Linked DNA regions of Homo sapiens: regions 1, 2, 4, 5, 6 and 7 are each linked to region 3. Evidence: promoter capture Hi-C in 16 types of primary human blood cells and fetal thymus (Javierre and others, 2016). All regions are on one chromosome and are shown on one strand. Each heading gives the region's core, a stretch centred on a gene start or on the middle of the fragment in contact. The rest is flanking DNA. Distances are from core to core; before and after follow the strand shown.

Evidence for each region. The method cuts DNA at HindIII sites, captures the fragments that hold promoters and counts their contacts. A CHiCAGO score of 5 or more calls a contact.
Region 1: a contact is called between a fragment that was not itself captured here and the fragment with the promoter of FST in region 3, in 16 of 17 cell types (total B cells, erythroblasts, megakaryocytes and 13 more). The highest score is 26.3, in total B cells.
Region 2: a contact is called between a fragment that was not itself captured here and the fragment with the promoter of FST in region 3, in 1 of 17 cell types (M0 macrophages). The highest score is 6.8, in M0 macrophages.
Region 4: a contact is called between a fragment that was not itself captured here and the fragment with the promoter of FST in region 3, in 3 of 17 cell types (total B cells, naive B cells and total CD8 T cells). The highest score is 8.2, in total B cells.
Region 5: a contact is called between a fragment that was not itself captured here and the fragment with the promoter of FST in region 3, in 1 of 17 cell types (total B cells). The highest score is 7.5, in total B cells.
Region 6: a fragment that was not itself captured here is called in contact with the fragment with the promoter of FST in region 3 in 1 of 17 cell types (total B cells); the score reaches 5.6 in total B cells.
Region 7: a fragment that was not itself captured here is called in contact with the fragment with the promoter of FST in region 3 in 1 of 17 cell types (total B cells); the score reaches 5.1 in total B cells.

What each region holds. Positions count from the first base shown.
Region 1 is chr5:54,231,925-54,235,540 of GRCh38, forward strand. The region is part of intron 1 of ARL15 (ARF like GTPase 15); the gene reads right to left. Among named protein-coding and RNA genes, the nearest start is that of ARL15, 77 kb to the right of the region's middle. The HindIII fragment of the contact is 1,062 bases long and covers 1,501-2,562 here.
Region 2 is chr5:54,423,457-54,427,327 of GRCh38, forward strand. No RefSeq gene overlaps it. Among named protein-coding and RNA genes, the nearest start is that of HSPB3, 30 kb to the right of the region's middle. The HindIII fragment of the contact is 626 bases long and covers 1,544-2,169 here.
Region 3 is chr5:53,479,204-53,483,007 of GRCh38, forward strand. FST (follistatin) reads left to right here and starts at 1,426. Exons shown (of 6, transcript NM_013409.3): 1 at 1,426-1,673; 2 at 3,677-3,804. The coding sequence starts at 1,589. RefSeq lists an enhancer at 2,659-2,728. The HindIII fragment of the contact is 5,217 bases long and covers 1-2,431 here.
Region 4 is chr5:54,248,881-54,252,903 of GRCh38, forward strand. The region is part of intron 1 of ARL15 (ARF like GTPase 15); the gene reads right to left. Among named protein-coding and RNA genes, the nearest start is that of ARL15, 60 kb to the right of the region's middle. The HindIII fragment of the contact is 1,094 bases long and covers 1,212-2,305 here.
Region 5 is chr5:54,288,242-54,291,757 of GRCh38, forward strand. All of the region lies in intron 1 of ARL15 (ARF like GTPase 15), which reads right to left. Among named protein-coding and RNA genes, the nearest start is that of ARL15, 21 kb to the right of the region's middle. The HindIII fragment of the contact is 1,344 bases long and covers 1,569-2,912 here.
Region 6 is chr5:54,312,350-54,316,402 of GRCh38, forward strand. No RefSeq gene overlaps it. Among named protein-coding and RNA genes, the nearest start is that of ARL15, 3.8 kb to the left of the region's middle. RefSeq lists a cis regulatory region at 985-1,332. The HindIII fragment of the contact is 4,389 bases long and covers 448-4,053 here.
Region 7 is chr5:54,401,526-54,405,602 of GRCh38, forward strand. LINC01033 (long intergenic non-protein coding RNA 1033) reads left to right here. Exons shown (of 5, transcript NR_126379.1): 2 at 118-340; 3 at 1,998-2,263. Among named protein-coding and RNA genes, the nearest start is that of HSPB3, 52 kb to the right of the region's middle. The HindIII fragment of the contact is 226 bases long and covers 2,395-2,620 here.

The DNA of each region.
Region 1 (3,616 bases), core at 782-3,281, 750 kb after region 3:
TTGGGGAGACACAATTCAGTCCATACTCCCTCTCCAATCTCAAGTGAAGGCCTGACCACTTAGCAGTCTACGCTGCGGCCACACTGACTGCTCATGTGCTGTCTCTAAATCCAAATCCTTGTGGAGCCCTCTCCAGAACCCTCTCCTTTTCCTTAGGCTCCCTATACCTTTTGCTTAACTAACCCCTCACTCTTTAAGTCTCAGCCTCCATAGTCTTAGTTCTTCCAAAAAGTCCTGCAATCTGACCTGCAAGCCCTTTCCCCTCTGGGATTAGAGGCCCTCACCAAATGTTCCCATGATCCTGACCACATTTGCCTGTATCCTTTACTAGATTCTTGGCTCTTTGACAGCAGGTACTGAGGCTGTCTGTTCACGGCTGCAACCCTAACATAACCCAAGAGCACTATTAATACATAGTGCTCTTTCAATAAATATCATTGTCAAATGCCATTCTCAAAAAGGTAGGCAGAAAAACAGGAAGGGAAGGAGAGACCAGAGTAAGCAATGGCTCCTTACTATCTATGGAAAAAAGTTTCCAGTTGTTCTGACATTCGAAGCTCCCTTCCACTGGGCCTCAAGACCCTAAGTTCATATTTGAAAGGCTGCACAGGAGAAAGCAGAGCCTTATGCTGCATTTGGGGGTAAAAATAGAACCAACAGGTAGAAATATGGGAGAAACAGGGCAGAGTGGGAAGGGCAGGGGTGCTTAATTAAAGACGCATGCCCACCTACCAGGAAAGCCACAAAATTGCTTCTCAGAACTTGTGTTCAGGGACCTCTCCGGTCTGCTCTGCCTTCAAGACACATTCTTTTCTCCTCTGATTTCCTCTATTCCCACAAGAGCCATCAATTGGAGTCTACCCTCAGCCCCTTGTTCGGCTGACACTCATGTTCACCCCTGCCCTCATACACCATCCTTGTTTGCAATGGCTTCACAACACCCAGTTCTATGCTTCTCCTAGTCCAGCCGTTTTCAATGTGTGCATGGACTCCTGAGGGTCCCCAAGACCCTTTCAGAGGATCTGCAGGATCAAAACTAATGTCATCATACTAAGACATTATTTACCTCTTGCATTGTGTTTGCATTAACATTGATGGAGAGAGTGAGTGAGTGAAACTGCTGGCCCTTTAGCACAAATCATGCTGGTGGCACCAAACTCTACCAGCTGCCATTGTGTTTTACATAAAAATGGCCTTGATGAAGCAGTAAACTATCAATTTTATTAAATCTTGACACGTTACTATTCTGTGTGATGAAATACATACAAAACATTTCTGCTCTATGTAAAAGTCTAAGGGTTGTCTCAAGGAAAAGTACTCGTGAACCTAACTAACTTCTCTTTTCATGGAACACCATTTTTACTTGAAAAAATGACTTACAGGCAAACTATAATTATTCGAACTTGGGTATTTCACAGATATTTTCTTAAAAATAAATGAAGTGGGCATGTCAATTCAAGGAAAACAACTGTTAGTATTTGTTGCCAGTGATAAAATTCAAGCTTTCAAATGAAAATTAAATTCTTAGAAAACTTGTATCTGCCATCATGAACTTGACATATTTACAAGACTGATATTGTGTTAACATTTGGAAGATTTACATAACTAGATGAACCAATATTTTCCAAGACCAATGTGTAATATTACAAAGTCATGCCTGAGCAAAAGAGTCTTTCAAGGTCCAAGAGAGACTACTGGCTTTTAACATAACTAACTAGAATAAGTTCACTGATATGGTTTCAGGTTCCACATGGCAACTAGCCCCTAAGGAACTACCATTTGATTGTTTAGATATAGAATCACAGAAGACTACTCACAATTATCAGAAAAGGCTATTAAAATATTCTTTTCCAACTTCATAGCTGCGTGGGGTTGAATTTTCTTCACATACTTTAACCAAAACACACAACAGATTAAATGCAGAGGCAAATATGAGACTCTAGCTGCCCTCTATTAACCCAGACATTAAAAAGATCTGCAAAGAGGTAAAACAATGCCATTTTCTCACTAATTTTTGTTTTGGAAAATATAGTTCTTTTTCATTTAAATGTTATTCATATTAACATGTAATGGGTTTATTTTTATTTATTTTTTGAGACAGTCTCGCTCTGTTGCCAGGCTGGTACAACGGCAAGATCTCAGCTCACTGCAACCTCTGCTTCCCTGATTCAAGCAATTGTCCTGCCTCAGCTTCCCAAGTAGCTGGGATTATAGGCGCGTGCCACCAAGCCCGGCTAATTTTTTTATTTTTGTAGAGATGGGGTTTCTCCATGTTGGCCAGGTCTCGAACTCCTGGCATCAGGTGATCCGCCCGTTTCAGCCTCCCAAAGTGCTGGGATTACAGGCTTGAGCCACCAGGCCTGGCCCGTTACTATTGTTATTTTTAAATGCATTAGTAAAAAAAAAAAAAATTTTAATTGCTAGAACATTAAATATCAATACCCACATTAATAAAAGCTATTTGGGAGCCTTAATAATTATCAATGGTGTAAAGGGGTCCTGAGACCAAAAAGTTTGACTTCACCAGGTGTTTGAACACTACAGATCCCATCTTGCCCATGAAGCTTCCCTAGACATCCCCACCCCACCGTGCTCCCTTCTGCATCCTACAATAGCATCCACTGGTAAGGCCACTATTTTAATAATGATATGGTTGCTTTATACTAATGAATTATGTTTTTGTACAACAGTCTCCTAGTGTCCATGTTTAAGAATTTAAGGGACTTTGCTTTCCAAAGCTGTTAACCCAACTAGCTCTGTGAAAGTGAAACAAAATTATGGACTTAAATTTCTGTCTGTGTCAAAAAAGAGTAAAATGCACCCTCTAGTGGACTTGTAAGCTCACAGAACACAAAATAAATTTATTGGATTGTCAGAAGAATTACAACTCCGTCCCAGAAAATTCAGATTATAAAATAATAATATATGAGCATAGGGAAATTAATTTTAATTTTTTGATAATATGTTTTTAAAAGAGCTAAGAAAATGTGAAACCAAATCTAGTTTGAATGTAGTTCATAACTAAATGCAAAAGTAAACCTGAGGTCACACACAAAAAACTTCTTTCTTAAATTCCTATGAATTGATTATACATCGGCTATCCAAAATAATCTGTTCAAATTATGTCTTATTAACTACTTATAACTTTAAATACATAGAAGCATTAACATGGATAAAGTTGGGATTATTATTAGTTCAATTTCCAAATATTAAAACTACACTCAACTTACAACCTGGGCATTCCAATGGCCTTCACAAAATCTGAAAAAGGACCTTTGAAGGATAAGAACCAATGCTTGGGGTATACTTTTAACTCTGTATGTTAATGTTAAAAGGATTTAATTCTATGCATCTTTCTCTAGGATGACATAAGAAAAACAGTGTAAAAATACACTCAACCTTATCAGATAAAATAATGTAATGACATGGAAAGAAGTCTGAAATATATGGTTAAACTAAAAAATGTAGTCACAGAATAACGGGTGGCATGATCTAATTTATGTTTTAAAAAATGTACGCACGTGTACCCATGTTTATGAGCACATATGCACGTTAATTCTATAGTTAAACCTTTTTTTTTTTTTTGAGACAAGGTCTCGCTCTGTCACCCAAGCTG
Region 2 (3,871 bases), core at 607-3,106, 940 kb after region 3:
TAGAGATGGTGGAGGGGAATATTGAGTCTAGGAAATTAAAGAAAGAAAATGACAGGTTAAGGTTGGATTTCAGAAATATCAACACACTTGGCAGACATTCTGAGAAAACAATATTGTTGCCCCAAAGAAGTGTTTACTCATAATAATGATTTGAGGTAAATTACATTTTCACCTACACAAATTATCTATGATCCATTTCTTATTCCTTCTAGCATTTTTTTCTCAAATTCAAAAAAGGAGGATTGGAGAAAAAAAATAAGTTTTGAATTTGTTCACTGTACCTCACAGCTCACTTCTGGCCATATCACAGTCTTAAGCATTTTCATCTGCTTTTTTGTGAGTCCCCTTTACTTAACTCATCACAACTGGTTTTAATTACTTGGTTAATGGACCATATTGCATCCTAGACTATAAGGTAATAAATATATTTTGTTCAAGACAAAAAAATGAAATGACATTCAAATGTATCTAAAATGGAAGTAACTAGTTCTAGATGGCATTTGCTCCAGTAGGTTTTGCTTTTCCTGATTCACTGTTTGCACCTCCACGTCCCCACCCACCCCATGTAAGAGTAGGGGACTATGCCTAGAAGTACCGTGATAGTGCAGTTGGCACACACGTTTCATGGGAACTTCTGGAAATAAAATGGGTGGCAGGGGTGGAATATGAGTTTAAAATACACACTCAGAACTGATTATTTCAAACCACCTCTTACCATCTGAAAATTGGTTTTGTGTGTGTATTTTAAACATACATTCCCCCTTATTTTATTTCTAGAAGTTTTCACGAAATGCCTGTGCCAACCGCCTGGCATTTTCCTCCATTTTCATGGCACTTCCAGGCATAGTCCTTTAATCTTTTTTTTTTTTTTTTTTTTTAGATGGAGTCTTGCTCTGTCACCCAGGCTGGAGTGCAGTGGCATGACCTTGGCTCACTGCAACCTTCACCTCCCGGGTTCAAGCCATTCTCCAACCTCAGCCTCCTGAGTAGCTGGGATTACAGGTGCCCACCACCACACCCCGCTAATTTTTGTATTTTAAGTAGAGACGAGATTTTGCCATGTTAGCCAGACTGGTCTCAAACTCCTGACCTCAAGTGACCCACCCGCCTTGGCCTCCCAAAATGCTGGGATTACAGGTATGAGCCAGTGCACCTGGCTGAGTTCTCTAATCTTATATGGAGTAGTTGGAGATTGGGGGTAAATAGCCACTTCACAGTGTAGCCCAGTGGTTAGGAGCATGGACTGTAGGGCTTCACTGTTCCCATCCCTGCACGTTTCCTCCCTGCAAGCAAGCTATTTAAACTTTCTGTGCCTCCATTTTCTATTCTGGAAAAGGTCGTCGTAAAGCCTAAGAGCAGCAAATGAAGAGTTTCATATATGGCCAGCAACACATTAAGCACTTAGAAGCTAGCTACTGTTATTATTACTACAAAATTATTTTTAGCCACTCGGAAGACATCATTCTCTTACAGAGTTCCAACTGAAGTGTAAAAGAAATAGGAAGCCATAATACAAGACATAATAAGAAACGGCAAGGTGGTAAGCTTCAGATTTGGAGGTCAGCTATATTTCCTGTCTTCTTGGTAGAAATTAGCATTAAGTTTTAGAAAAATCAGCTTTTGTTTACAGAAATTGCAGGATAACAAGTGATTGGGCTGCTTACCTTTAACCCTTCAGTGTTGGAGGATGCTCATGTCTAGAAGTTACAGCTGGGATATCTGACACTGTTAATGAGCTTCTCTTCCTGAGAATCCTAGGAAGCCTGGTGCCTTCTGAGAGCCCCAGCAAAGGGGCTTCCCCTTATGTCATGTTTCTCTTTTTGGCCTCCACTCACTTCAGATACCACTAGAAAGGATTTAATGGGCTATTAGTATCTATTTCTTTTCCACCATGCTTTTCTTCCCAGGTATTTTCTATCCATGCCCATGTATTGGATGGGCTAACACAAAGCCTCCCCTTTCTTATAAGCTGCTATGTATCGCCAGCCTCTGGTGCTCCCTTGCCCAGAGAGAAGCAAAAACCAGTCAGCGTTTGAGAGAATTGCCTGCAGCTGACTTCTAGGCTGGGCACTGTCAACCTTAGTTACTACTTTCTTTCCAAGAAGCATAAGCAGATATCTTTTTCTAATGTTGTGGATTTTAAAAATATGTAGCATGTTAATCTTTTGAAGCTTTGAAAATTAAATTGTGTTTTTCCTGCTCACTTTTCCCATAGGCCACTTCTCTTGGTTTATATGATAGGAAGGGAATTGATAAGAGAATCCTGAGTTGCTGTCACTGTATATGAGTTTATCATCTCCTTCACAGTGGGCACTTGGCTCATCAGCCACAGAATATCCAATGTTCTGAATCAACAGCCTGCAGCAGGATGGCATCAACAGAAAAATCAGGCTGACATGCCCACAAAAAAACCACCCTTTCTCCAAAAACTATTGGAAACAGCCTCTTTGAGTCCTCAAAAGCAAAAAATATTGGGGACCAGACACGGTGGTTCACGTCTGTAATACCAGCACTTTGGGAGTCCAAGGTGGGTGGATCACTTGAGGTCAGGAGTTCGAGACCAGCCTGGCCAACATGGTGAAACCCCGTCTATACTAAAAATACAAAAATTAGCTGGACATGGTGGAACACACCTGTAATCCCAGCTACTCAGGAAGCTGAGGCAGGGGAATGGGAGAATGGCTTGAACCCGAGAGGTAGAGGTTGCAGCAAGCTGAGGTCATGCCACTGCACTCCAGCCTGGCCAACAGAGCTAGACTCCATCTCAAAAAAAAAAAAAAGAAAAGAAAGAAAAAAAAAGAAAAAATTGACTTTTCTTTCCATTGAGAAGAAATTGTTTTTGAACCATGTGGGCAGGGGTATAATTCCTCCACTGTGCTTCACTATGCTTCTGGTTGTGTTATTGCTGGTCCCATAGCTTCAAATTATATAGGTGATTTGCATGAAGAAAGGGAAAGAAGAAATTTCTCTGGAGGGGAAAGACGGTGGTAAGACCACTACCTTCTTCATTTCCCTTTTTTCTGGCTCAACCTCAGAAACTAGGTCTGATTTCTGGATTTAGGGGTGTTAGGCAGTGGTTGAAAGAGCTGTTGAGACTCTGGGGTACAAAGCAGTGCCTTCTCCAGTTTTATAGGGCCAAATGTCACCTCTGAGCAGCTGGAGAGATGTTTTCTCTATTTCTGTGGTATGCCATGTATATAGTGTTTGGGGAGAAATAAGGCCAGAAGTCACATGGCCCCTTCAGCATGTGGAGGGATTTGCAGCTGTGGAACCCAGGAGTGCTCAGGAAGTGGGGGCAGCCTCGCTGAAGAGCTAGGAGCAGCAGACATCAGCAGGAAGAGCAGAGGATAACATCAAGAGGAATCGTGCCTGACACCACCCTGCATGTCCAGGGTTATTTCTGGGAAAGCCAAAGCCTAAGGGGTATTGGGTTTGCTCAAGACTCAAGTCACCTATGGGTAGGTGGTGGCCAATAATCCGGCAAAGTGGGGCTAAAGACAAACTAGACAGCTTGGGCATGAGGTTTGAAAATAGGAGGTCTGGGATGTTTGGGTTACAGTCAAAAAACTAACATGGCTTTAGCAACTTCACTGAACCAAGTCATAAAATTTGTTTCTCTTTCGTGGCTCCAATACTTTGGTGCTCTTAGTACTCTCCAAATATAGATCAGAGATGCAGGAGAAATCAACTTTTAGCAAGCTGAATGAATGATCTTCTAGTGATTAACTCTTCTCTAAGTTTTAAGTGAAAAGCAGCAGGCGTCATGGTGAGTGTGAGTATCCTGTGTTGAACTGGATCATTCGTGTAGGTTTGGGGAGCTCTAGTGAGCATTATGGTACCTTTCTTCCTGGAACACCAAGTTTTAGGCAGT
Region 3 (3,804 bases), core at 176-2,675:
GACTGGGGGAGGGTCTGGCGGGGGGAGGGCAGTTGCAGGGGGGGAAGAAGGGCAGATTTGAAATTCGTAGAACAAATCCCAGTGACCTGCGAATGTCCAAGAATTTTGTCTGCATACTTCGCTATCTGTTGTCCTTCGGGCTTCAGATGCGAAAAGAACAAATTTAAAAGGCAGCTTTGGAATAAACAATATAGCATTTTCCGTGAAGTAATCGTTTTATATAAAAGGAAATATCGCCTCCTCAGTTTCATTCAGCGGTGCCAAAAATGTTATAAATGAGAGACCCGCCAACTTTCAGCGAAGAATGCCAGGCACTGTACTTAATAAACTGAGGCTACAGAAGTTCATTATGGATGTTGCAATCTTTTTTATTCCGCGAAAAGAGAGAAGACGAGACAGAAAGAGAGAGAGATTGGAGCCGAGGAGACTGAGAGACAGACAGAGGCACACAGGACAGAAACTGGGGAGTCTCCAGGCGGGAGAGGAAGGGGGGGCCAGACCGCCTACGTCGGCGCCCCCGCTCCGGGCTCCGACTCCAGACGCCGCGAAGTGAAAGGGGAGAAAAGAAAGGGAGAGGGCGAGGCTGTGCCGCGGGGAGACCGGGCCTGAGGTGTTAAACATTTTTGTTTGCTTCCGACTAGTCCAGACGAAGGGCCGCGTCTCGGTAGCGCTCTGCCAGGGTGGAAGGTGCCGGGGCCGGGGTTCCTAGCAACACCTCTGGGCTGGGGGTGGCTGCAAAGTCAGGCACTCACAGACCCAGACACAAAACCTCGCGGGTCCCGCGCCCAGGCTGCGGGTGCCCGGAACCGCCGCGAGGCCGGCGCGCTCCGACCCGACCCGGGGCGGGATATTTGGGCAGCCCGGGGCTCTTCGGCCGTTTGCAAAAGTCTCTTTGGAGCGGAGGAGAGGCAGCACGGAGACAAACTCCCGGGTTCCCCCCGCCACCGCCTCCAGCGCCCCCACCGCGCCCTCCCTCTCACACTCGCGCGCGCGCGCACACACACTCACACACACACTCACACACACACCCGCCACCCCGGGCGCGCCGGCGCTGCCGGCGAGCGGCGGCGAGCAGGACTTGAAGTGGGTGTTCTTCCCCACTCCCCACCCCCGACGCGTAGCCCCCAACCCCCGCCCCGGTCGCCTTCCCCCTCCCTCTCGCTCCTACGCAAATAAGAACTCGACGATTCCCTTCCAGCCGTTTTGATTTCGGGCACCTCCGAAAGATAATTGGGAAGGGTTTCCAGAAGGTGGGAAATGTCACCTGATTCACACTGAACTTTTGAAAGCTCCCCACCCCCAAGGAGCCGCGCACACCCTCGCTCGCGGCCGCCCTCCCACAGCCCCACACACTGGGAGACCGCCCACCGCAAACCGCGGAGACCCCCGTCTAGATTTAAAGCGCGGCTGCGCCCGGCTTCTGACGTCCATTGAATCGCGCGGGCGGCCGGCGGCGAGCGCGGGGCTGCGCCGGGATCGCTGCGCCCTCCGCCGCTGGCCTCTGCGACGCGCGCCGCTCGCCCGAGCCACCCGCCGCCGCGCCGGCTCCCCGCGCCGCTGCGCTCCTCGCCCCGCGCCTGCCCCCAGGATGGTCCGCGCGAGGCACCAGCCGGGTGGGCTTTGCCTCCTGCTGCTGCTGCTCTGCCAGTTCATGGAGGACCGCAGTGCCCAGGGTAAGCGAGTGGGGATGCGCTGGGGAGGCTTGGCTGAGGACAGGGGGGTCGACTTTTCTGTGGTCTCCACTTGGTCTGTTCTGAGCAACGCTGCTCTCGGAAGATGTTGAACCAACTTGGGGACTCCGGGATGGAGAGGAGTGGGAAAATTGTAGGCAATGACACTTTAGGACTGGGAACTGAGTTTGGAGCTCGGTTATCTTGAAAAAGGAAAGGGAGCGAGCTGGGGTCTTAGTAGTTAGGGTTAAATGCTCCAAGTTCTGGCCATGATAACTTTAGATGTGATCTCCTCTGTTTGGCTCTGAAGAAGGGAACAAGTATCAGTAGTAGCCTGGAGATTTCAGTCGACCCATTTGCAGTCTCATCTCTCTCCCTCCCACATCTTTTGGATACTTAAAAAAAAAAAAGGAAAGAAAGAAAAGAAAACCTGGGGGTTTGGGGGAGAGATACTGAATTTTATTTGGTGGCTGGGGGACGTGGTTTCAGAAACTTTGCCCAAACTTGGAAATGTGGGTGCTGAAGATTTTCAAGGGAAGTAGCTTTCTGCCTAGTGGATGCTTCTTCCAACCCCATCCCCCATTCTCGCAAAAAAAAAAAAAAAAAAAAAAAAGCCAAATTATTACCCCAAAGTGCTTTGAGCACTTTACAGTTTTTTTCCCCTCTGCCTCATTCTTCTTTCTGACCCTTAGCTTTCTGTAAAACAGTGAGCAGCCCATAACTGACTTAAATTCTGAAATGGGTTAAGAGCAAATTTCTGAAGCTTGCCTTTTAAAAATAGATTTGTTTATTTCAATTAGTCTTTGGGCAGAATGTTTAAAATAATAATAGCAGCTTGCGATCCAATGATTGTTAAAGTCATATTGGTGATTCATGAGAAGTCTTCTCGACCCAAATCCGAACATTAAAAAGGGGGAAGAGGGAGAAATCACTTGCAAATATTTCTTGCTAGGTATGAGATAGGTACTTATAACCGTGAAATGGTAGGAAGACTCCCCCCTCCCCCCACCTTAAGGCATTACTTTCCCTGCTTCAGCGTTAACATTTTAAGTATGTTGTAAACTGCCCTCCTGGGCACTGCCCCTCGCCGTCTGCATGGCACTGCGCTGGGTTGCCCGCCTTTAGAGGAGAGGCTCTGCCTGGTGCCCGGACGTGGGCGCGGAGGAAAGCAGCCCTCGGAGATTTCGAAAGATCGCGGTGGCCGCGGGCGTGCTCCGGTCTGGCGGATTGCAAAACGGGCCCGTCGGGCTGGCTGCGCCTGGAGGCCGCGCGGGGTAGCTCCGGGCTGGGCCGGGTTGCTTTTTTGCTTTCATTTTTCAGAAGTGCCTTTTGCTTGATCTGTTTCTCTCTCTCTCTCTTTCTTTTCTTTCTTCCTCTCTCTCTTTCTTTCTTCCTTTTTTTCTTTCTTTCTCTTTCTTTTCTTTCTTTCTCTTCTTTCTTTTCTTTCTTTCTTTCTCTTTCCTTCTCCCTCTCTCTCCCCTCCATCTCTCCTCTCTCCTCTCTCTCGTTCTCTTACTTTCTTAACCCCTGTCACAAATAATTCCTGTACCCGCCTACATGAAACCAGCATGTAAAAACATCCGTCGCATCCTGTTTTTGTCAGGTTCTTTAATCTGCTCTTCGAGTCTCTGCAGGTTATGAAATGGGACGAATAAAAGTAAACAGTCTAGTAAAAGTCAATGCAAGCTGCACGTGTTGTGTCTGGGTCACTGGTAACTGACATTGATATGGCTGGGGCGCCCTGTCTTCTCCCTCTCTCCCTCCCTCCCTCTCGCCCACCTCCCATCTCTGTGATCAGGGCTTCCCCCTCCACTGCCTTCTTTTTCCACCCCTCCACCCCTTTCGATTTATTTCCTACTTTTCTCCCGCGTCTCTCTCACTTCCCCTCCTCCACGCTCACCCCCTCCCCATCCCCGCCGGGTCTCCTTCGCTAGCCACCTCGCTCTCCCTGCCCTGCCACCGCTCACTGCTCACTCACCCACCTCCCCACCCTTGTCTCTTCACAGCTGGGAACTGCTGGCTCCGTCAAGCGAAGAACGGCCGCTGCCAGGTCCTGTACAAGACCGAACTGAGCAAGGAGGAGTGCTGCAGCACCGGCCGGCTGAGCACCTCGTGGACCGAGGAGGACGTGAAT
Region 4 (4,023 bases), core at 509-3,008, 770 kb after region 3:
AACACTGAGAGACTGGTAATACTTAAAAAACCAGACTGACGGCTGGGTGTGGTGGCTCACGCCTGTAATCCCAGCACTTTGGGAAGCTGAGGTGGGAGAATCAGTTGAGCCCAGGAGTTTGAGGTCAACCTGGGCACTGCAGTGAGACCCTGTCTCTAAAAAAAATAATAAAAAATAAAAAAAAGAATCAGTGATGGAAAAGAAGCCAGTGGAGGAAACAGAAGAAGAGCAACCCAAAAATTAGAAGAAAAATTAGGATAGCGTATTATGGAAGCCAAAGGAAAAATGATCAGTAGTATCATAACTTGGCAGACAGGATGCGGGCTGAAAAGAAGTGGATGCATATAAAATTAGTTGAGCTGAGGTAGTAGAGTCCAACTAATGACCCAGTTGCAGTTGGCTAAAAAAAGTGGAGGTAGAACTTTCTATGTACATCTCTTTTAGAAAGTCCATCAGTAAAGAGAAGGAAGAGTCAAATGTGCAATGGCAGGGAAATAGAGCAGAGAAGGTATTTTTCAGAATAGAAGATACTTGAGTCAACGAAGAAGGAAAGACAGAAGAAGATATAAGAGGAAGTGAAGATAACAGAGAAAAAAGTTCAGAAGGGAACGGGAAGAGTAGAGGTAACCAATTAACCTTGGGAATAAGGAAGGAGAGAGATAGGTAACAATATACAGAAACACTTGAAGGAGAGTAAAAGTGCAAGAATTCCCATCTCTAGTTTCTAAGTGAAGGAGTTCATGAGGTCATATCTGAGAGTAAGAAAGGAGAAGTGTGGTTGTGGTTAAGAGCAAAAAAAAAAAAAAAAAAAACTTTAACAGCTGTAGGAGAAAAGAAGGAAATCAATCCCTAGTTGTCTGAGGAATACACAGAATTCCTAAGGCACGACAGAGGAGCCAGGAGAGCTTGTAAGTAATTAATCAGTATCAAAGCCAGCCAACAGGGCTATAGCAGTTTCTGTCACACAGCAATTGGCAGCCTGCCAGGAGAAAAACCGAGTTAGAGTGGCTGTGCCTGGGACTGCATCTCAAGGGTCCTGTGGAGAATATATTCAATGACTGGTCATAGGGTGTGTCAGACCATTTTTGCATTGCTATAAAGAAATATCTGAGTTTGGGTAATTTATAAGAAAAGAGGTTTAATTGGCTCACAGTTCTGCAGGCTGTACAGGAAGCATGGCACTGGCATCTGTTTCTGGTGAGGTCTCAGGAAGCTTACAATCATGGCAGAAGGCTAGCAGGGAGCAGGCCTGTCACATGGCAGGAGTGGGAGCAAGAGGTGGGGGTCGAGGGAGGCACCACACACCTTTAAACAACCAGATTTCCTGAGAGCTCACTATCATGAGGACAGCACCAAGAGGACAGCATCAAATCAACCATAAGAAATCCACCCCCACAATCCAACCACCCCTACCAGGCCCCACCTTCAACACGAGGAACCACACTTCAACATGAGACTTGGGGGGACAAACACCCAAACCATATCACAGGGCTTCTGGCTAAGCAGGGAAATAAAAGCAGCAGGTTTGGGTGAGGCTGACAGAATTGGAGAACAGGAAAGAGATCAGATTTTCAAAATCAGCATGATGATGAGAAGCAAGTTTAGTTAAAGTTGGAGAAGAAAATACCTGATTGTGCAGTCTCTGAAGTGGGAAGAACAAGGTTCAGTAAGTTCTGAGGAGTAGAAATGAAGGTCGCTAAGAGACGAAGGTCTGTGATTTTGGTGGTCTTGATGAGAGACATGATGGTGGAGAGAGGGAGAAGTACAGGGACATGGGTAGTAGGGACGGGACCAAAAAAAACACCAAGAGCTGGTGACAAAGGGCCATTGAAGATGGAGCAGAGTCCACAGGTCCTGGGGGCAGCCTGGAGGGAGAACCATGTTGGCTGTGAAACTAACTGGAAATCCCACATCTTCTGATCCCAGAACAACCCAGCTCTGGAGAGATCTAGACTTACAAGTAGGCACAGTGAAGGTCACTAGGGTCACCATTTTAGTCTACCTGAAACACAATTCACTCTCTGAAAGAAGTTATAAAAAGCAAGGTCCACCTCCTAACAGTGACAGGCTAACTTTATTTAACTAAATATAGTTTTACTATATTTAGTAATCTAACTTCAAATGCTTTCAATCAGATGCTATATTAAATTGAATCAGCCTATCTTCCTAATTATTAAGCATGGCTTGGAAAAGCTGAAGGAAACACAACACTGCTAATTTGCACAGAGGCTTAGAAAGTGATTCACTTGAAAGCCCCTCCCCTAATTCAGGTAAGAAGGAAGAAGATAAGTAAACAATGATGTAAAGCTTTAATTACTGGCTCACACTTTTTATGATAAAACACACACTGCAAAATTCTAAGGTGGCCAAACAACTCTTAAGCATGCTTTGAACTTTAGTGCAAAGAAAGAGATACGTCTGTAGGCTTTTGACAAACATCTAGGTATTTTCATTTAATTTTCCCACTCTTGTTTGTTGAGTATGTTTTTCCACAAGCAGAATTAAATTAAGGAAAGCCAGGCTTTTTAAAAAGTAATTGAATATTAGCATTAGTCAACAGCAACAGTTTGTAATATGGTATTTCCACTGCAGCACCTAGGGATGGCAGAAAACGGAGGCTGCTGATAAACTGTACTGGCATCTTATCTGTACCCTTACTAGATTTCTAAAGTTTATTTAAATGGTTATTCTGTATCTGTGTCTCATAAAGGGATGTCATCAGAACTGCCACCTAAGGAGCTATTCCTAAAGACCTCAGACCTACTGATTCAGAATCTCCAAGAATAAGGATCCAACAAGTAGATTTTAACTTCTTCAGTGTCCACCACACTGTCCTGTTTAAGAACACCTGTAGTGTAATAAGGTAAGCATGAAGTGTCCCCAATTAAGAACACAATCAGCTTTAGAGCAGTGGTTCTCAGCCTTGTCTGCACAATAGAATCACCCTGGAGGACATTAAAAAATCCCAATGCTAGGCCACACCACAAACCAATTAGTACATCAGAATCCCTGGGGTAAGACCTAGATATTGGCCTTTTGCTGCCCATGGGATTCCCATAGTCAATCAAAGTTGACAACCAGTGAAGCAGAGGACCACGTCAAACAACTGTTTAATGAATAAATGAAAAAGACTAATTTAAAATTCTCTGAATTTTTCCTTATTGAACACAAGAAATGATATTCCATGCTATCAGCAACATGCAGACTAGGATCAAAGGGCTATGGACCTTATAGTAACTGGAGAGATTGTCTGTGAGTCATCAGGCAGACAACAGAAACCAAACTAAGCAGGTGGCAATGTGTTAGGAAACTCCTGAATGCATTTAACATTTAGTAAAAGGATCTCGACATCACTCCAGGCAAAAGGAATGTTGATCTAGTAGTTAAGGTAAATTTTCTTTATGGAAGAGACTGCCTCATTAAGTCACCTTGTGCAATCCAGTTCATTTCTTCAAACCTTTCTGTTGCAAAATAGCATCAAGAAAGTTCTGAAGTCCAGGTTTTAGATACTTATTTTGCTCTTTTTAAAAGGAAAACACTTGCTACTTAGAAGTTCATCTATGCTTTTGCTCCCTGGACTTTCTGAAGTTTCAGCAAACAAGTCTTTAATAAAGATACCATGCATTTAACAAAGGACAAGATTTCTCTCACCAGTTTAACCACCGACAGGGTTCATGTCACAGGATGAGGGTCAATCAGGATTGGTCAAAGTGATGTCTAAAAGGAAGAAGCTGAGGCAAAATTAACATGGAGTTCATTTGGGCCAAGGCTGAAGACTGCAGCCAGGGACACTTCCAAGTTGCCTTAGGGGGTGCTCCAGAGAACTCAAGAGAGAACAAGTTTGTTTTGTTTTGTATTTTTGGAGACAAGGTCTCACTCTATCACCCAGGCTGGAGTGCAGTGGCCCAATCTCGGCTCACTGCAACCTCTGCCTCCGGGCTCAAGCAATCCTTTCACCTCAGCCTTCCGAGCAGCTGGGACCATAGAGGCGCGCACCACCATGCCTGGAATGTTTTTTATTTT
Region 5 (3,516 bases), core at 991-3,490, 810 kb after region 3:
AGGAATGGCAGCATGATCAAATTCTAGTAAATGAGATATAATTAGTAAGTCTTACAAGTCTTCCAGGAGGGAAGCACACTCTTCTTCTGCCCTTTCACCATCCAGCTATCTGGAATGCAGAAGTGATGGCAGGAGCTCTGGCACTAATTTTGGACCATAAGCTTAAAGTCTACATATAGTGGGCAGAAGCTTCTTGGGGCCCTAATGACTTCTGGACTTACTTGCCTGAGCAAAAAATGAAACTGTCAAAGCCACTATATTCCAACCAATTCCAGTCCTAATTGATACAGTGGTTGAGAGAATGTGACAGAACCACAATTTGAACTCAAGTCTTTTGGACGTGGGGGCCAAACTCAATCATTATGAGCAAGTGCAAATGAAGTCAAACAAACTGAGTAAAGCAGGTTTACAGTTTACATGTATTTTATAATTCAACAAATCATAAAAGTCTGACTACCAAAGGCCAATAAAAAAGAAAAACACGCAGATGCAGTGTCACTCACCTACTACAAATAACACTTTGGACAAGCCTCTTTGACTCTGTAGCCTACCTGGACATATAAGGTTTTTCCCTCAATACAAGTACCTACAATAAGGCATATGGGCAATAAAAACTGAATATAGGCACCAGCTTCTCATGCATGGCAGAAACCTATCAAATTCAGATTTGTAAGGAGTAGATGAGACTTGCAAGAGCACACGGGATTCTGGAAAGCCTACAGCATATTTTGCAAGGAAGTAAGAGGCCTGTCTCATTAACTTCAAGCAAAAGAATTTTCCATACGTCATTAACAACTAGAAGAACTCAGCCCAGGCATTGTAACTCCCTAAACCACTGATGCCCCAGGGTGGCAAGTGTAGCATAGATCGGCAATTCCTTTGAAAGGCTCAAGGATTTTAGATGCCCAAGCTGAAGCACCAATGAACTTTGTATTAATTCTCTTCATTAATTAAACAATTTCATATTTGCATTGACCACACATTTTGTGCCCAGCCATGTCCCATGCTGGGGACGGAACAGTGAGAGCAAAGTCCCTGCTCTTATGGAGCCTACACTCCAGTGGTAGTGGCACACAAAACAACAAATAAAATCAACTTAGATGGTGACAAGTCCTATGAAGAAAAAAAAAAAAAAGAGAGAATGTGCAGGAGAGGGTGGATTTCCGGTACTGCTATTTTTAAGAGCAGACGTGGTCATTCTAACAATATTATAGACAATAAAAGAGATGCCAAAAAAGCTTTCAACAGCTTTGCTTCCCAAACCCCTTGCATAGGCAAACACAGTATTTCTACCGTAAAAAGTCACAGCATTAGACACTCAATTCAATAATCCACAAATATTTATTGAGAAGCAGTTCTGGGAGACATTAAGAGCAAATCTAACAGCTTTCAGTGTTAAGACTTTCTGGAATCAAATCCCAGCCATACAACTTACTATTTGTAGGAGCTTGGGCAAGTTGCTTAACCTCTGTGCATCTTAATTTGTCATTTGTAAAATGAGGATCATAGTAGTACCTATTTCATTGGGTACTAAGAGGATTCAATGAGTTATAAAAGGAAATACAGTAAGCTTCAGATTTGTATTTTGTTTTATATATTTTGTAATTGACATATAATGTATATTTTAATTGAATATCTGCTATGTTCCAGGCACACAACTTCCTCTAAGCATTTGCATAATGGGGCCCCACACACCAGGAAGCCCCAGGGGCTGCAGTCTGCCATCAGCTTCTACAGATGCCTTGCATTCAGGCCTTGTCTGTACTCTTGGTGTCTCCGCCTGCTGTCACCTGCATTACCAGGACTAACTCCTGTGACTTCTTACTGCAAATACTGTAACCCAGAATGGTAACTCTGAGATTCCCCAAAGGAGTAAACATTCCAAATCCAAGTTTCTCTCTTACCACTCTGTCTCAACAGAGCCAGCAACTGATGCAAAACAATAAACAACATCCATTTTTTAGCCAGGCCTCACAATATTGTCCAGATTGGCAATGCGACATGTTTAAACTGAAGAAGTTTTAGTCTACATTATATAAGATTATATCAACTATCACTCAACCTTTTTTTTTTTTTTTTTGAGGTAGAGTCTCACTCTGTCATGAGGCTGGAGGGCAGTGGCACGATCTCGGCTCGCTGCAACCTCTGCCCACCTCCTGGGTTCAAGCGATTCTCCTGCCTCAGCCTCCTGAGTAGCTTGGGATTACAGGTGAGTGCCACCACGTCCAGCTAATTTTCCTATTTTTAGTAGAGACGGGGTTTCACCATGTTGGCCAGGATGGTCTCGATCTCCTGATCTCATGATCCGCCCTCCTTGGCCTCTCAAAGTGCTGGGATTACAGGCATGAGCCACCGTGTCCAGCATCACTCAATATTTTAATATTCAATAATATTTAATATTTTTAATGCTATTATAATGATAGGCATCTACTTTGCCATGCATTGTCCATTAGGCACTTGGAAGCAAAATTAATTAGAATCATAAGGAAAATTATATTTATTCAATTATCCAGAGTATGAATTCATCTTCCATTCCCTACGTCCCATTCGTTTTTAATATAATTAAATGAACACAACTTTTCAGCACTGTCCTTCTACTAAAACCTTAGAAATCATTGTTTAGGGGTTCTTTCCTTGAATTTATCTTTTTAAGCCACTTCTTTGGGCATGATACCTACACTGTCAAATCTATATTTAAAGTCCTCAAAATATTCAAATGGCCAACCCCTTTTACTGAATCAGTACTTCTATATTAACTTACAAAAATTATTGTACTGCCAGGAAAAGGCTGACTACAGGAGAACGTGGTCTAACAACCACTTAAAGGTTCAAAAAAATTTCTATTTGCCTATTAATTAGACAATCTCAACTTTTCTTCTTGTTTTTCTAACTGTGGAGGGAAAAGAAAGGTAAGCTTTGAGGTTAGACAAACCTGGGTTTGAACCATTCAATAAGTTACTTTAGAAAACTCATCCACCCTGAACTTCAATAAGTGGTCCTCAGATGAGAAAAGAGAACAGATAATCCTTGGTTTCCATGGGGGATTGGCTCCAGGACCCTCTGCAGATACTAAAATCTGTGGATGCTCAAGTTCCTATATGAAATGCTGTAATATTTGCATGTAACCTACACATATCCACCTGTATACTTTACATCATCTCTAGATTACTTATACCTAATACAATGACAATGTTGTGTAATTATTAGACTGTATTTTTTATTTTGTATTATTTTTTATATTTTTTGTTCAAATATTTACAATTTGCAGTTCATTGAATCTGCAGATCTAGAACCCGCAGATACAGAAGGCTAACTATAATAATACTAAAGCTACTAACTCTACTGAATTAAATAAGCAAGCATCAGGTGCTTAGCAAAGGGAAGATATTTTCTCACACCTAGTGAATCCAAAGCCAAGCCGCCCACATCTACTACTGGAATGTGGATGAGTCTCCTGAACAGGCCCCACTAGTTCCCATCTGATCCCTGTATAATCCATCTTCCATTCAACAGCCA
Region 6 (4,053 bases), core at 1,392-3,891, 830 kb after region 3:
TTCTAACTCCTGGACTCAAGCAATCCGCCCACCTCGGCCTCCCAAAGTGCTATTAGATCCAATTTTGATTTTCCTTGGCATTCTGTTAATTCAAACACATGTAGGTTTAGAAGAGATTTTCACCTAGATTTTGGAGGAGATGGACGTCCATAAACGTACACTCTTTAGCACAATTTGTTTGAAACTAATTTGGAAAACAAAATCTCTCAATGAGCAGAAATAGTCATGGAACATTTTTTGTTTGTTTTGCTTTTCTTCGTGAATAAGCATATTTAAAATAAGATAAAGGGCTTGAGTTAGCAAAGAGACACCTTATGGACCATTGTCTTAGTGATAAATGATGTGTGGGCTACTGCCCAGTCAGGCTTTCGAGAGGCCTATCAGTCTCTATGCAGAGGAGGATAGCCACTCAGAAGCAGGTGGCTTCTGCCTTTCCTTTAAAAGTTAAGCTTAGGGAAAGATAGTCCTGAACATGTCATTAGGGTCAGTATGGTTCTTGCTGCCTCTAAGAATTAGTATATGGGGCCAAAGCAGGGAGATGAAAGAATATGTTCAAGGAAAAGTTCCAAAGACTGCACCATAATATTCACTTTATTCCACACAATTTGCACATTCATTGTGACTGGCATCAATGAAAACCTTGTAGTCAGTGTAATGTATTAAAAAATCACATATTGCATTTTAGGAAAGAGTCCTTATAAAACAACAACAACAACCTGTAGATTTTGAACTCCATATGGAGCACATTTTTTCAATTAGATGTTTTCTGAGATGTCAGTGAGTCCGCCCCTACAGAGGAAAGAGGCTAACTTGACTGAATTGGTATGAACAGATAATACACTACCCACTACATGAAGCTGCAGTCATAGCTGATAGGGTTGGTAGCACCTATTGAGGTAATCACCTCAATACATGCTTTTTAAAAGAGTGTAGAGAAGTTAGAATGCATTTAATCAACCTACCATACTGTATGCCAAGTAACAGACTGCAATCCAGAACAAGACATGATCTCATTAACCTAGTTCTGCCCTTGCTGTCAGTGAAAAGAATGACCCTCTTCCAGATGCGGAAGAAACATGTAAACTCATGAGGCAATTGCATTAGTGCATAGGTTTTGAGGAAAGAGGCTGATACGGTTTGGCTGTGACCCCACCCAGATCTCATCTTGAATTCCCACGTGTTGTGGGAGGGACCCGGTGGGAGGAAGTTGAGTCAAGGGGGCGAGTCTTTCCCATGCTGTCCTCATGATAGTGGTAAGTCTCATGAGATCTGATGGTTTTATTAGGAGGAATTTCCCTGCACAAGCTCTCATTCTCTCTTGCCTGCCGCCATGTAAGACATGTCTTTGCTCCTGCTTCACCTTCTGCCATGATCATGAGGCATCCCCAGCCATGTGGAACTGTAAGTCCATTAAACCTCTTTCTTTTCTAAATTGCCCAGGTTCAGGTATGTCTTTATCAACAGCGTGAAAACAGACTAATACAGAGGCCATCACTGTTGCTTGTCAAAAGCAAAGAGAAATTATTTTGACAGTCCATACTCTAAAATTCCATAAAGGCTGCTGGCTAGCCAAATTTGGAGGAAAATTTTTTGTTAAACTGTCACTTGCAAGGAATGAAAACAGAAATGCATTTTTGCAACTTGGTCTCCCAACTTTCCAGAAAAATCAACATATTAGTGGTTATTTCCAGCTATTCTTTTGTTGTTTCCAAGGAGAATACTGCCTTCACTAGTTTTGTATCATGCATACACTATCTCACTGAAACTTTTCATAAATCTTTAATGGATACATAAAACTATTGTAAAAATGTACTACTGTGTTAACAAATCCTTTATTAGTTACTACTATTATAAATATTACAGTGAATGTTTGCTTATAAAACTATCCACATCTTATTATCCTAAGAATAATTTCTAGTAATAGAATTACTGGTACAAAGAGTATGAGCACTTCTTTTCTTTTTTTTTTTTTTTTTTTGAGATGGAGTCTCGCTCTGTTGCCAGGCTGGAGTGCAGTGGCACAATCTTGGCTCACTGCAACTTCCGCCTCCCGGGTTCAAGTGATTCTCCTCCCTCAGCCTCCTGAGTAGCTGGGACTACAGGCACACGTGACCACACCCAGCTAATTTTGTATCTTTTTTTAGTAGAGACGGGGTTTCACCATGTTGGCCAGGATGGTCTTGATCTCCTGACCTCGTGATCCGCCTGCCTCAGCCTCCCAAAGTGCTGGGATTACAGGCGTGAGCTATCACGCCCAGCTGAGCACTTTTAATACTCAGTTTTGACCTAGCTTATGTAGTCTTCTTCCTTCTACCCCCCAGCTCCAAAGTAGGGAATGATTATCTTGTCTCATCTTTGCCTTAATATTATTCCTTAATAGCTGAAAGATGGTATCTTTCATTATAATGACTCTTAAATCATGGACACTTCTTTTTCAGAAAAAGTGGTCAGCTCTGCAGAGGTCATCAGGCACTTTTTCTCACTTACCACATCCAATAACTCCTGTGACTTTAAAATTCTCTTCTGAGTCCTTTTTCCCTTTCTCTCCAGTGGATACCTTGACACCCACCTCTGATTTACCCCAGTCCTCTTCTCTGCTTCCTAAACCTAAATGAAGTATCACTGTGTCCCAGAAGATGAACTTCATCAGAACAGGGTGTCCCCACATGAAGCCGCTAACAGAGCTTGATTCATAAATGGAATCAAGCCAATGATTATTGAATGAGGTCAGAGGTTGGAATTAGAGTAGGGTTTTCTGCTCTTAGCATGGTGACCTACTTGCAACTCAAACTAGAGGAACCCCTCACTGAAATAGCTAAGTCTGAAGTTTTTAATCTAAAATATCTCCATGTCAGTTTAAACCTGTTTTCTCTCCTGCAGGTAGATCTTAAGGCCTTGTATGTCTATTTTTCAAAGATCAGTCCTGGCAGTCAAGATGAAGATTTGTAACTACTTAACTAGATGAGCTTGGACAGGTCACCTGTTCCTTCCAGGCTCCTGTTTACTCAGCCAGGGGATAGAGTTCAACTAATCCCTACCATGATTAAGGGTCACTCACCTTTTCCAAAAAGGGCTTTGCTGGGTCTTGGGGTTTTAAAGCAAGATAAGACATCCACTGAAAATGGTAAATATACGAGGGAAAGATAACTAGATCTCACAAGCAACCACCATTCAAGCACCAAATATCAAGAAGCTGTGTAAATCCCTCTCAATACCAACCCCAGCAAGTTCATTTAATCTCTTAGATACATTTCTACATTGCTGATTGTATTAATTTCCTATTCTGCAAGCCAGTTATGAGCCTTATGGAACTAAAATAAAGGTGTTGGAAGAGCTAAAAGAGTTAATAGATAGATGGAGGCCATTAGTGAATCACACTCATTGCAATTGGGCAGCAAGTCCTTTCTTGAATTGTGAATCTCCTTTTCTGCCACACACGTGTGTCTGAATCTCCCTCAACAGCCTGGCTTGACACCTTGCATGTAGCCCTGGCACCACTAAAGATTGATTGGTTGCTTAGAGCATAGACCTCACTATTTACAGCCAGCCTCATTGTGTCAATATGTCACTGCCTGAGCATACTTGTTAGTACTTCCTGACACAGTCAGCTCCAAGTGAAGGAGAAAAATCAACAAATCCATTAGGCCTCATGATCACCATGCTGAAATCTCACAGCAAAAATCACAGATAAAATACCCTTCCCAAGATCACACATTAAGTAACAGAGCTAAGGACTTTCCTTCCATAACCCTGGAATATCTATTTCTTCCCTATACTACTATGGAAGTGACAAGATCTTGGGATCAGTGTGACAAGAAAATAAAGCAGGCCTAGAGTCTACCACGGAGAAACTTCCGCTTATTAGAAATAACAGGACAAAGAAAGGCGAATAGACAAAGCCCTTCCCGATACAAATGTGCACACAGTCAACCTGGTGCCAGAGGAGTTACTAAAGTGTTTAAGGGATGAGAACTCAGTGAGGGTTTGCCAAAGTTTCTGGAGTTCTAATAGAACTCTCCAAGAAAGAAAAAATTTATCTTGGAGGATTTGTGA
Region 7 (4,077 bases), core at 1,258-3,757, 920 kb after region 3:
AAATTACCCCCTAATAATCCCAATTCAGGTATTCCCACCCTCCCTTGTGGTTCCAGAGTTAGTTTGTGTGACCAGTGCAATATGTCATTAGACATTAGGTCTCTCTGTCTCTTATAGATCACTCATTCTGGGGGCAGCCCTCTGGCATGTAATGAGCAGTCCTATGGAGAGGCCCATGTGACAGTAGCCATGCGAGTGACACTGGAAGTGAAACCTGCAGCTCCAGTCAAGCCTTTAGAAGACTGCAGCCCTGGCTGACAGCTTGACAGCAAACTCATGAGAGACTCTCAGCTTGAACAACTCAGCTAAACTGTTCCTGGGTTCCTGGTCCTCAAAAACTGTACGAGATGAAAAAAAAGTTTGTTTTTTTAAGCTGCCAAGTTTTGGGATAATTTGTTATTCTAATATATTTTTTAATACCTGGAAGTAAGGTGCTACCATAATAAATACCTAAAATGTAGGCACAGCTAGGAAACTAGACAGTGGAGGTAGCTGGAAAGAATTTAAGAAGCATAGCAGTGAAAGTCTCAGGAGCCTTGAACAAAACATTAGAAAAACTTTGGACTTTGACCAGGCTGCTGGTGGAGGTTTAAAAGAAAGTGAGAAAAATCTTGTTGAAAACAGAACAGGGAATCCTTACTATGGAGTGGCATAAATCTTAGCAATATTGTTGTCTGCAATAATGTGGGTGGTGGGAATGTACCTGGTAAACTGGGTGATCTAATTTGCTATTCATAAAGACATAAAGATTCTCAGCTTTTACAGATGGTGAAAAATGCTAAATTAAGAAATGGCTGAAGGACAGAGGTCAAATCCTGGGCACCATCATGAAAACATAATCCAAAGATGAAGCTGAGATGTGACTATAAATCCTTTGTTATGACCTCAGAAAGATCAAAAGTGGTGCCTCAGAGTACCAGTTTGGTCACACAAAGGCCCTCTAAAGTTTTTAAGGCTGTGACTCACAGATTCTTTCAAAAACAGGGCTCCTGAGAAGCTTAAGAGCATAGTTTTTCAGCAGAATCACAAGGTGGGAAAGGGATTATCTCAAAAAGATTTTTGGGCGTGACTTTTGTCTAATGGAATGGACCCCCAAAAATTCATAGGTGATTCACAAATTTTTTAAAAGAATTATATTAGTAGAAACATTGCCAACTAGAACTCAAAGGGATAGAGACAGTATGAAATGAAAAAAGGCCTTGGTACTCACTTTGCCCCTGTTTCACTGCAGGTTAAGAAAAAATTTCAGCTGCATACATGTACTAACTTTCATGAAAAAGAAAGAATAGCTAAGCATGGTGACTCACTCCTGTAACCCCAGCACTTTGGGAGGACAAGGTGGGAAGACCACTTGAGCCCAGGAGTTTGAATCAGCCTGGGCAACATAGCAAGACTCTGTCTCTTTTTAAAAAAGGATGACTCTGAAGGGGAAGCTAAAAGCCTCAGAGAATAACTCATGCGTAGAAATAGGACTAAATCCTAAGGCGATTCCAACATTTGCCTGGCTGGATTTCAGAGCTGCTATGGGGACATAGTAGTGTGTCCAGTACCTTTCCTTTTTGAATATTAATGCATATAGTGTTTATTCCTGTTCCACCATTGTGTGTTTGGGGTGTGTGTGTGTGTGTGTGTGTGTCTATGTGTGTGCGTGTTAGTTTCAGATTGAGAGGAATTATACCCAAGGAGCTAGAGTTAAGAAATTATACCTAAGGAACCTCTTGTGTACCTGGTCCTGATTTAAATGACAAGACTCTAGACTTTGAGTTGATGCTGTAATGAGACAAGAATTTTAGAAATGTTGAGATGGAGTGGACGTGTTTTGCATGTTGGAGGGACTTGATTCACTGGAGCCTAGAAGGCAGACTATGGTAGCCAGCCCTCAAGATTGTCTCCTCCTGGTATTCATACCCTTGTATAATTCCCCTCCCACATTGTACCAGAATTTATCTGTGTGACAGAATATGGCAGAAGTAATGATATGTCACTTCTGAGATTAGGTTATAAAAGACATTGTGGCTACCATCTCTCATCACTCACTCAAAGGGAAGCCAACCACCATGCAATGAGAATCTCAGGTAATGAGGACCTGAGACCTGTTGTCAATCACGTGAATAAGCTTGGGAGGAGATTCTCCAGCCCCAGTCAAGCCTCAGAAGACTTCAGCCCTAGGTGACAGCTTGATGATAATCTCGGGAGGCAGAACCACCCAACTAAGCCACTCCTGGATTCCTGACCCTGACCCTGACCCTAGAAACAGTGTGAGGTAATAAACGTTGTTTTAAGCTCTTAAATTTGGGGGTAAATTTTTAGGCAGCCATCAATAATTAATACACACCTCTAATGTATTTGTACTTACACCACATACCATGGGATCTCACAAAAGAGCAATTTTAAAGCTTGCTTGGATAGCCGATATCTTTATTTTCAGAACATATTCTTCATGCATAAAGAAGCAAAGACTCTTTCCTTCAGTATAATCCTTTTGATAGAAGCGAAAACTTAAGTCTGGCAGTTTTCCTAATATATGTTTTTCACACTTTTCCTTTATTTTAGGCAATTCTAAATAGACAAAATCAACTTGAGAGTGTTCTTGGATTTAATTTAGAAACAACCCCAGTTAAGCTTTTCATAAAACTTTTAAATTGGGCTGGCTTTTATTTTAGGAATATGAATGTTCTTGGAATTCTTCCAGATCTCTAAGCAATAATCTTTTACGCAATCCCCTTTATTTTGTTATGAAAAAAGAGCCTAGGTAGTTCTTTTAAGGTTTACTTTTTTGTAAAGGTATCTTTAAAACATCCAGATGCCTCTAGACATTCAAGATAGAACGAGGCACTCACAACTTCTATCTGCCTATGTTTCATCTATTTTTCTATGCTGTTGTGTGAATTTTGACGTTTTATTTTGTCAAGAATAGTGGTGAAAAACCAATGAATTTTTAAGTGATTGAGCTCTAACATTTCCTACATTCTCCTTCCAGAAAGTAAATACACAGTAATTATCATTCATTATTACCTTCTCCATCTGACAACTGCCTTTCACCCCTCAAATTATTGTGCATTTCACATTCTTTTTTCTACCTAGGACTAATTTGTCCAATCAACCGGACATCTGTTTTTCTTCCCCTTTTTTGAAAACAGGCTGCTTCTATGTTTTCAGGGCCTTCCTTTCTAGAACATGTAAGAACTTGTTCTCAGACTACTTGTAAGCAAGACACTCTCTGAGGTTACAAGTCTGGAAGCACTTTCTGAGAACAATTAAAAGATCTGTCTGCCTGTTAGGGCGTTCCATGGGAATGTTACACTCTTTGGAAGAAAGCTTTGTGTAAGCAACAGTCACTTCTACATAGACAATACAAATGTCACTTCATTTATTAACATTACGTGTCTAGATGATTGACTGCCCTTGGAAAAATATATATGGAATGAGGCAAGCTTATTAAAACCTAAATAACTCTGAAGATCTCTTACTTGGTCTGTAAACTTTCTACTCTTATAGCTCATGCATTTTCACAGGAAACAAAAGCCCTTAAAGGCCAAATTTCCACAACAAAACAGTGAATCTTTTCAGGATATAATCCTTCAATTCTTTCCTAAGTACGTTTAGATAATTTTTTTTTCTTTTTTTTTTTGTTTTTGAGATGGAGTTTCACTCTTGTTGCCCAGGCTGGAGTGCAATGGTGCGATCTTGGCTCACTGCAACCTCTGCCTCCCGGGTTCAAGCAATTCTCCTGCCTCAGCCTCCCAAGTAGCTGGAATTACAGGCATGTGCCACCACACCTGCCTAATTTTTGTATTTTTAGTAGAGACGGGTTTTCACCATGTTGGCCAGGCTGGTTTTGAACTCTGGAACTCAGGTGATCTGCCCGCCTTGGCCTCCCAAAGTGCTGGGATTACAGGGGTGAGCCACCGTGCCCAGCCCTTTTAGATAATTTTTAAATCAGGAAATATATGATGGTGATGACCACATGTGACACCCCAGCCATGAATAAGTTCTTGGCCTTTCTTTTGACTTTAGCCTCATTCTTCCCCTTATTTTCTTTTTCCTACTTTCTTCACCTACTTCTCTGTTTCTCCG